3 separate regions of the Homo sapiens genome follow, and all the other regions are linked to region 1. Evidence: promoter capture Hi-C in 16 types of primary human blood cells and fetal thymus (Javierre and others, 2016). All regions are on one chromosome and are shown on one strand. Each heading gives the region's core, a stretch centred on a gene start or on the middle of the fragment in contact. The rest is flanking DNA. Distances are from core to core; before and after follow the strand shown. Region 1 holds the start of RTP2 (receptor transporter protein 2). Region 2 overlaps MASP1 (MBL associated serine protease 1). Region 3 has its middle 36 kb from the start of RTP4.

Region 1 (3,259 bases), core at 517-3,016:
GTTAGAGGCAGAGCCAGTGCTCAGCACATAACAGGTACCCAATAGATGCTTCTTGAGTTGATGGAACTGACATGAATCAGCCAACCTCTGGTTTTCTGTCTTTTTTTCACAAGGCAGGTTTACTCCAATAATTCCAGGTCTTGGGACAAGAGTACAAACGTAAGCTCCCTACCCACATCTTGCCTCCTCTGTTCCCACCCTCAGCACCATTCTGCACCATGAGAAGCTTCACACACATACACGTGAACAACCCAGCCTTTGTGTCCATGTTCTGGCTACATCTCCAGAGCACAGCCACTTACTGGCCTCTCTTGAATCCAAGGACACAGGAAAAAGGCCTGCACAGACACTACAGATGGACTTGAGGTAGTCTGGGGAGGAATTTCTGTAGTCCCAGTCCCCAATCATGATCTAAAAGGAGGAAAGGCATGTGGACTTTAGACGGCCTCGTCCCCTTGGCCTCAAGGACTCTTTGCCCTGTGGTAGATGTGCAGCTCCTATAAAGAGTGGGACCCTGGGCTCTAAGTTCCTAAAGAAAGTTTTGCTCAAAGCTAAATCTTTTTATCACAGGTGCATAGATAATAGAGCTAGAGTGGATTGGATCTATTATCTAAGACCAACCCCCTCATTTTGTAAATATAAAAACTGAGAGCCAGAAAGGGAAACAGACTTGCCAAGTTTACAAGGCTACTTAGCTATATAGAGCCAGTTCGTAGCACACAGCAGGTGGTCAATAAATGTTTATGTATTCAGATCAAATTGGATTAATTCACTAAACATATCTAGGAACAGAGCATAGCTGTACCCCCTGCATTCCCCCAACTCCTAGATTAAAACTTTCCCCAATGGACCTCATGGCCTCCTTCCTTCAGTTCCAACTCACTCTAAATGTCAGAGATTGCAGGGACATAGATGATATTACAGCTCTTCATTTAATGTGGACAACTAAGACCCAAAGATGGAACATAACTTTCTCAGGGTCACCCAGGGAGTTAGTGGTATTGCTAGGATTAAAAGCAAGAACTCTCTGACCCAGCCGGCTGTCTTTGTCTTTTTCCCCATCTGAGCTGACACCAGAATAAGCCCGCGACTGGGCTCTGTCTCTCCTTGGAAAGTACCCCACAGCTGTGACCCAGGGGCTGTCTGCAAGGTCCCTCCCCACTGAACCTCTCACCTGCCTGAGGCGTGCTGCTCCAGGTACTGCTTCCAGCCAGGGGCCAGCTCACTGGGCTTGAGGTTGGGGTCTATGATGAGCTCCCAGCTGTCCGCTGGCTTTGCCACCTCCATCTTCTCATAGAAGACTTTCTTCCACTCACAAGTGGTCAAGCTGGTACACATGGTCCTGCTGGCAGAGGTGGCAGTTCGAGCTCAGCCCTGGTGAGAACACAGAAAGAGCACGGATAGGTACGGGACAATTCAGTGTCTACGGTCAGAATCCTCATCGGCAGGACTGGGAGTAAACAGGACCCAGCTCCCTCCTCTGTTACCCTGGAACCTGTTACCATGGTAGCCAGGCAGGGCACCAAGAGTGAGGGCTGGGGAGAAGGGAAGCCCCAAGGGGGAGTTTCAGGGCCCTGAGTTAGGCTTCAGAGGCAGCGCTGGGTAGGCCTGAGAGGAGCAAGCACAGTGGGAGGCCCAACCTCAGACCACACTCATCTGGATTTCCAGAGGTCTCCAGGAGGCAAGGACTATTTGGTGGCCCTGCTTCACCCAACTGCTCTTCTAGCATTCTCCACATCATGTGCTATGGTAAGTACGACACCCTAGGAAGTCAAGGAGAAATGAGGGACAGGGAAAGGCAGAGCCTGCTGCTTCCACACCCCCTGATATGCTGTGACCATCACTTACCATGTGCCTAGCACAAACCGCTTGACCTGTGTGCTGGCCAAAGCAGATCAGATCAGGAAACTGAAGTTTATGCAACCCCTAAGTGGCTCATCCAAGATTCAGATCTAGGCCTTCTGAAACCGAGCTCATTTGTTTATTTATTTTAGTACTATTGTGCTCCTAACAGGGAATTGAGTGAGAAGTAACATCTCTTTGCCCAGGGCAATCTTAGACCAGTTGGTGAGCTAGAATGTAATTTCATATGCCATGCAAAGCACAGTAATAACATTTCAGATTCATAGCGTCATAGAACTGTTAGAGCCCATATTCAGTTCCTGGTCCCAAGCCAGGCTAAGGTGGCTGCTGGGGTAATGAGTTTGTTCTGTGCTGCAGGCTCCTGCTGCCTCCATTACTGCTGAGCTGGAGCAAGAGAGCATCCGTAGCTCTGTGATGCCCAATTCAAATTCTTTAGAAACCAGAGGGGAATCTGACTTCAAATTTGGTAATCCAAGTGAAGACACGGTTACCTGAAGGGAGGCTGCCTTGAGCATGGAAAAGACCAGGCATATGGCTGCTTACCCTAGCTTTGGTCCAACTTCCAACTGTAATCATCTTACGATTCTTTAACCCGGAAGTCTGGATCCCTAGACACGCAGAGTTCCAACAGTAAAGAGCTTCAAGAAGTGAAACAGGTTGCTAAGAACCGGAAGCTCTTGGTGTTGAGTTGCCAAGTGGTTTTCAGGAAGTGTGAAGTCAGGGACAATGTCACTGGATTCTCTCTTGAAATGAAAAGTGTTACTCTAGCGGCTTTGTGCTAAAGACCTCAGAAAGGACACAATTGTCTTTGAACCATTGACTGACAGCTCTAGAAGAGCTCTTTTATTTTTAAAAATCTGGTTTATTTCTTGAACTCTTCATTTCTTAACCAAAATTTATTGACATTGAATTAAAACAACTGAGGCCTGGAAATGGAAAATTACTGGCCCAGGCTCTCAGGACTGGGTAGCTCAAACCTCACTGGGGATTCCCTTAGAAGCCAGTTACCAGACCAGGTGAGACAGAGGGATCCATGAATGGCCAGGAACTGAACGAAGCTGAGATGAGCTTATGGCCTGGCCTAGACCCTCGTGCCAGGAAAGAACCTCTGAGAAATAGTATACCCTTGTTCCCAGAACAAATGGCAATAAAGGAAAAACAGAAAGAGGATGAGAATTGTCAGGGTTTACCTGTATTTTCTTTTTTCCTCAAATAATGCAATCCCCTTAGGCCTAGTATCAGGTTTAATTTAGCATAGCAGCTTCTAAGCAGAGACCAATAGAATTCATCTTTCTGTGTAACAGCACTGTTTTCACTTTTCATACAATCAGTGAGCACAATTACTACTTCAATTTTCCGCGAATGACACTATCTTATTCCAGAACCCACGATTTAA
Region 2 (3,259 bases), core at 470-2,969, 440 kb before region 1:
AGACATTAATGGTAAAATCTATGTGGTGCACACACAGATTTCCATCGTAAAGGAGAGGTCACAAGGCAGTTTTCATCTTCGGAGAGAGAGAGAGAGACCTGAGGATGAGTCACTTCTCCAACTTACCCACAGCCATGTAGTGGGCATCAAAGCCTGTGAAACGCTCCTCATTGGAGAAATCTGACCGGAAAGTGATGGACATGAAGGAGCCAGGGGAGAGGACCACCTCCTGGCCGGGAGTCTGCTCTGTGTCTGTGGTCTCCCTGCCACAGAAGGTTGCCAGCACCTGGTCCTCAGTTTCTACCTTTGAGGTCAAAGAGAAAGGGAACAAGATGAGCAGTTTCCCAGCTAGGCTTCTTTCCTTATCTTTAGAAAGAAAAAGGAAGGGGCCACCCAAGAGTAGGCTAGTCAGCCTGAGAAACCCAAAGAAAGGAGGTTAAGGATTCTTGAGAAAAGACGCATTACAAGTTAATTCAATGTGGACATCTGATCAGTTTCATTCGTCTTATTTAGTTCCATTAGAAGTAGCTTGATATTTGTTGTTGCTGTCAATAACCAAGCAGCTTATTTATTAAAAATAACTCAATATGAAAGTTTTAAAAAGTTAGATAACCTCGCAGACAGATTCTCTGCACAACAGGAACTTACCACATTTCCAAAGAATGGAAACTGTATACACAATATAAGTCATTCATTGAGTATCCAGTGTGTGCCTACTGCCGAGCAAAGCATGAGATGGAGGTGATGAGAGATAGACACAGTGCTGTGCACACAATAGCAGTGTTGAGATTGAGGAACACAGACACAGGCAGGTATTACACAGTGTGACAAATGCTTTCACACAAGCAGAAGCACTGCATATGCACTCAAAGCAGGCAAACAATCCACATTAGAATATAAGCTACAGGAGAGAAGGACTTTATTTTCTTTATAGATGTGTCTTCAGTGCATGGAACAGGACCTGGCACATAATAGTTATCCAATAAACATTTGTTTACAAGAACTGAAAGTACAAGCCCCATTCTGTGAACAGTGAGTAGCCAGGGAGTCTGTGGGGATTGTAGGAGGAGATGTACTTGGAAGGATACATGGAAAGAAAATTATGGTTGACCTTGAATGCCATTAATTCTGTGAGTAAGTGGAAGACACTGAAAACTTTTAAGCAGGAAAGTCATGTAATGAAAACTAATGTTTAATAGGCAGTCTTAATACAGAAACTATTTATTGGAATCACCCAAAAATAGTTTGAGTGTGTATCTCTGTGTGTACATGTTTGTGTTAAGACTTAGATGCAAAAAACATGCCTGTTTGCTAAAAGAATTCCCTTCTTTGGAAGAGCCAGAGGCCCTGTGCGAATTCAGAGATCCAAGCAGAGATCCTAAACTGGTGGCTTAAAGCTGATTTTATGTGAGACAGGAGTTTGGGAAGCTTCGTATGATAGCTAGTTGGTATATTTATTTGAGTATAAATTCTTGACGTATCTATTCGATTATCTTATACCTAATCCAATTCTTTTAAGTTGTATTTGTGTTTGCAACCTCTGGACCAAATTTTAGCCAAGATGCATGAAAAAAATCTCTTACCAAGAATGATTCCTGCTGCCTTTCAAAGTCATTAGAGAAAAGTTCTCAAAGGCGGCTATCTCTAGTAGCTTCTAATGAATTCATTGTTTTGTTCGTTAGCTTAGCATGTCAGAAATATCTTGACATTTGACACTCCTGTTTTGAAACTAATGGTTTATTTATTTAAAATAAGTGGGAGTTTCAAAGAAAAACAATTTGCCCTGGCAACAAAACGCAAGTACAATTAATCACTAACTTTGGGAATTGAAGTGTAAACAGAAGATGAGATCATGGCTTTGCTATTTATTCCTCTTCTCTGCAGATACCAGCCGAACTCACACCAGTCTTGTTACTATAGAATGTGCCTATCTGCACACAGCTGAAATGTCACTTCCTTGAACCTCCCAGCTGCTGTGTTATTTTATCTGACTCAGTTTTCCAGATAGCCAAAGCTTTACCTAACTATAACTAAAAATTTTCTTTTTGGTGTAACACTTAAAAAAAAAAAAGTACTTTAAAGAAGTACCCACTTTCTCAAGTGAAACATGCTAACCCTTTCTTGGTGATCCAGGGACATTGTTATGAATGTCAACCATTGTGATACTATATTAAAGTGATAATCTTGGGGATATTGAGTTGTGTAATGTCGCTTGACCTGGCGTTAAACATTGCCGGACTATAAAGCCTTGAACTTCTGAAGTCTTCTTTATGTCATGTTTTATTTCCTGTCTTTTTATCAGCCTATTCACTGTACTTTTCTGTCTGCTTATTTTTAATATGTTGTGAATTAGAAACCAGTTAACTGCTTTTGCTAGAACTTAATAAAAAAAAGCTAAATAGATTTAGAATGAGGGCCTGGGAAAGGGATTCTTCTGTGAGTAACTGCATGAACTAGAGTACACCATCTTGGTGACCTCTGCTTTGGAGTAATACGATATACAGGAACCTGGCAGTTGGAGGTCCTGGGTCCTGTTCCTGACACTGCCGTATTCTGCATTTTGGGCCATCTCCTTTCTAGCTCTCAGTTATCCACTTGTAAAAACAGGGGTTTGGACTAGCTGAGCTCTAGATTCCTTTCCAATTCCAGACATAGCAGTCATCATAGTCTAACACAGTTCTAACAAATCATCATAGTCATATATTATATAAACCAACCAGAAGATGGTAAGCAGGAGTTTTAACATATGCAGGATTACTGCTTGCGGATGAACTTGAATTTGTTAATAATGAATAGTCATGCCTTGGGCATTAATAGTTCCAGCTACACAGGCTTCTTTCTGGAACTTGGTATCCCCAGTGCCTCTTGGGTTCTGCAGTGACTGGGACATGAACATTTTCAAGTGAACACACTGGTCATTTGGATTAGGGAGATACTACTGAGGGTCTGTGATAAATGACCTCCCTCCTTGTAACGTCTGGGCTGAAGGACCTTTTCATAATGGCAGATAAATCAGATAAATGGTTATCACCTGCAGAGCCACAGTATTCCAGAGAACAGGAAGCATGCCCCAGCTGAGGCCCATGGGAAAATTTGAGCCATACATCCTTTTAGAAGCAGAGAAGAGAAGGCCAGTAGCCTGGGGCCCTGGGAATTCAGCCTGCAGCTCAGAATAGAGTCCTGGAATATCAGAGCTGGGCGGGACCTTTAAGAGCTATTTCTATCTGCCTCCTTCTATAGGAAACAGAGGTCAAGAGAG
Region 3 (3,259 bases), core at 348-2,847, 370 kb before region 1:
GCTGAGGCAGGAGGATCGCTTGAGCCCAGGAGTTCAAAATTGCAGTAAGCCATGATCATGCCATGGCACTCCAGTCTGGGCAACAAAGCAATGCCCTGTCTCTAAGAAAAAAAAAAAAAATCTCTAGAGGTGGGACCCAAGCATCAACAAGTTTTAAAATTCCCCAGGTGAGTCCAATGCAATGTGAAGCTGGGTTTGCTAACCAGAAGAATAGAGAACAGGTCCTTCAAGGGAAAAGGTCTCATTTCAGGTGGGACTAGATGGCAGAGTGATAGTGGGAGGGTCCCTGTACCCTCAGACATTCATTTTGAAATCTCGCGTCTCTCTGAGTTGTGAGAGCTGGTATGGAGGAGCTCCGCAGGCCCTGCCAGAGCTGAGGAACCCCAATTCTGTAAGACCAGTCTCAGAAAAAATAGAATCCACTTACTCTCTTCTAAAATGTTCCACATGGACCCACATGAGTGCGGAGCTCACCTGTTCCTGGTGGTCAGAACTGGTACCCATCCTGCTGCTCTGTTTGTGCAGGTGCAACCAGACATGGGGCCCTTCTCTTTAGGAATTTGTTAGGCATTTGTCCACAGCCATGGGTCAAAAAGCCCAGGAAGATGTTCTCGGTTTACAATAGTGGTCAGGGCCCTTGCTCACAGCTGCTGGTCCCAGGGCCAAGACTTGCCCAGCTTAAAATTCCTTTTCCTCTCCTCCCTGCCTGCTCAGGATCTACTCAGCTTCTCTGGGAAGATATCACTCCTTTCTCTGAACTTCTGGTCTCTTTTTTTAATTGTCTTCCATTATTACTTAAATATTTGCTATCTTGGCTCCTAAGTGGATGTGCCCTTCCTATCTGGCATTTCTTTTGAAATTCCCGGTATTAGTCCATTTTCACACTGCTATGAAGAAATACCCCAGACTGGGTAATTTATAAAGGAAAGAGATTTACTTGACTCACAGTTCCACATGGCCAGGGAGGCCTCAGGATACTTACAATCACAGTGGAAGACGAAGGGGAAGCAAGCATCTTCTTCATAAGGCAGCAGGAGAGAGAAGAGCAAAGGAGAAACTTCCAAACACTTAAGAAGCCATCAGATCTCATGAGAACTCACTAGCTATGATGATAGCAGCATGGGGGAAACTGCCCCCATGATCCAGTCACCTCCCTCCCTTGACATGCAGGGATTACAATTCGAAATGAGATTTGGATGGGGCACAAGCCAAACCATATCACTCCCCCAAACACTTGTTTGGTTCCAATGTCCAGTGTAATGAAGAAGCATTTAAACCTGCCGTCTCTGCATGTGCTCCCACTAGAACCCACCAGTGTGTGTGTCAGTCTCCTGAACCATTCGCTTCTTTTCCTCTTTGCTGATATTTGTATTCCGTCAGACAATTTAGGTACAATTTGTGTTTGACATGATGAAATGCACATGCCTTTACATGGCATGAGCTCTTCCCCATCCAGCACTCATCAGCCTCATGAAACACCACACCCTCTGCCTTCCAGTTAAAATGGATTCTCCAGCCACCTCTCTAAGGCTCTGCACATTTGCTGGGAGAACATGCCACTCAACCTAGTTCTCCATTCATCATCTCTAGAAGCCTTCATGGACTCCCCATTCAGAGCTGAGCTCTCCTATCTCTGTGTTCCCTCACCATTGTGTTCCTCCTTCATGGCGCAGTCATCACGATGGTAATTTCTGTTGTTAAACCACAGGAAACTAGAAAACAGAGGTCAAGTCTCTGTCTTCACGTGTGACTAGCACAGTGCCTAATGAAGATAAATATTTATCAGCTGAATGAATGAATCAATGATTGATTGATTCTTAGATGACTAAAATCATCTAAGACCCCAATTGACAAAGGAAAGCAAAGATCTTGAGCTGGGCTAAAAACCAGAGTTTAACATGAGAATCTGTTAAATGCTTACTCCCATTTACGTCTCTTCAGCCCAAAAGATTCAGATTCAGTAGGACCAAGGCAAGGCCTGGCAAACACATTTTTAAAAGCCTCCCAGTTGAGCCTAATTTATCAGCTCTGGCGACCTGCTGATGACTTGAGGATTCTTCTTTGGGAAAGTCTGTGCTTTTGCCTTTCTCCCAGGGCTCAGGGACAGGAACAATGTGGCAAGAATCACTGGATCTGTTTGGCCCCTCACTCTCTAGGGAGGCTGAAGAGGCCACTTACTTCTCTAGCATTCTAACCCTGCATAAGTAAAACCATTTACAGCCTGACTCCCACGGAGGGCTGTGTCCTAGGCAAGACAGTCCTGTGCCCAAGCAGAATGCAGAGCCACGGAGCCTAGCCTGAGATTTGCATTTTGGCTAACTTCTAAATCCAAGAGGATTTGAGGAAAATAGAGCAACATTTTGCTATTAGGGTCCTGTCATCTCATTACTGCTTGATGTGATTGACAACCCTGGTATGAGCAGTCTGCCTTTCAGCCTCCGTCTTTTTCTAATGAGTATTGACTCAGTGTTTTCCTTTAATTAATATTCATTGCGATAAAAAATGGCACTCATTCACTTTTAATTATACCCTTCTTGCATAAACAGGCTTTTAATAACAGATCTTTTAGGGTGAAAAAACAAGCTCTCTGCTCCCAGCTTTGTCTGATGCCAGGAAAGCAGCCTCTGTTATTGATAAAGGGGATTTCAATTTGTTACTTGGTGCAGTGGAAGGAGCTGTGGGTGGAAAGTTAGCTCTTCTACTTCTAGCTCCAGCTCTGCAAAAGGTATTGGAGGTTCTTGGGCTAACTCCGTTCCCCCTCGCGCCTCAGCCTTTGTATCTGAAAAATGGTGATTGAACCAGATCAGTGGTTCTCATCCATTACTGTATATTGGGATCACCTAGGGAAATTATTTAAAAATACCAAAGACCAGGCCACATTCCAGACCAACTACATGAAAATCACTATGAGTAGGACCAAGGCACCACTATTTTAAAAAAGATTTCCAGATGAAAATTCTTAAATACTGAATACTTCAGGATTGATAACTGCTGATATGGGCATCACTCTCACCAGACTTCGAGTGACTTGGGGCTGCTGCTTGGGTTTCGGATCACACAGGACCCAGGAGAGAGGCTGGGCTCGGCCTCATGCAGCAGCTCAGCTCTGCTCTGTGTTGCTCTGTGCTGAGGGATCACTGCCTGTGGAGGGCTTAGTGGTCTACTCTCAAAGAGGAGAGGAGAGGAGAGAATAATATTCGTGAGCACCAGCTATGTGTCAGACACATTCAACATTTCATCTGTCTGTCATCAGATATGT

Evidence for each region. The method cuts DNA at HindIII sites, captures the fragments that hold promoters and counts their contacts. A CHiCAGO score of 5 or more calls a contact.
Region 2: a fragment that was not itself captured here is called in contact with the fragment with the promoter of RTP2 in region 1 in 1 of 17 cell types (endothelial precursors); the score reaches 5.2 in endothelial precursors.
Region 3: a contact is called between a fragment that was not itself captured here and the fragment with the promoter of RTP2 in region 1, in 7 of 17 cell types (naive B cells, activated CD4 T cells, total B cells and 4 more). The highest score is 7.5, in naive B cells.

What each region holds. Positions count from the first base shown.
Region 1 is chr3:187,700,791-187,704,049 of GRCh38, forward strand. RTP2 (receptor transporter protein 2) reads right to left here and starts at 1,767. Exons shown (of 2, transcript NM_001004312.2): 1 at 1,175-1,767. The coding sequence starts at 1,338. LOC100131635 (hCG1645011-like) reads left to right here and starts at 1,576. Exons shown (of 3, transcript NR_034062.1): 1 at 1,576-1,749. The HindIII fragment of the contact is 5,389 bases long and covers 225-3,259 here.
Region 2 is chr3:187,262,417-187,265,675 of GRCh38, forward strand. It overlaps MASP1 (MBL associated serine protease 1), which reads right to left. Exons shown (of 11, transcript NM_139125.4): 3 at 127-304. Among named protein-coding and RNA genes, the nearest start is that of MASP1, 28 kb to the right of the region's middle. The HindIII fragment of the contact is 586 bases long and covers 1,427-2,012 here.
Region 3 is chr3:187,331,153-187,334,411 of GRCh38, forward strand. No RefSeq gene overlaps it. Among named protein-coding and RNA genes, the nearest start is that of RTP4, 36 kb to the right of the region's middle. The HindIII fragment of the contact is 4,956 bases long and covers 1-3,259 here.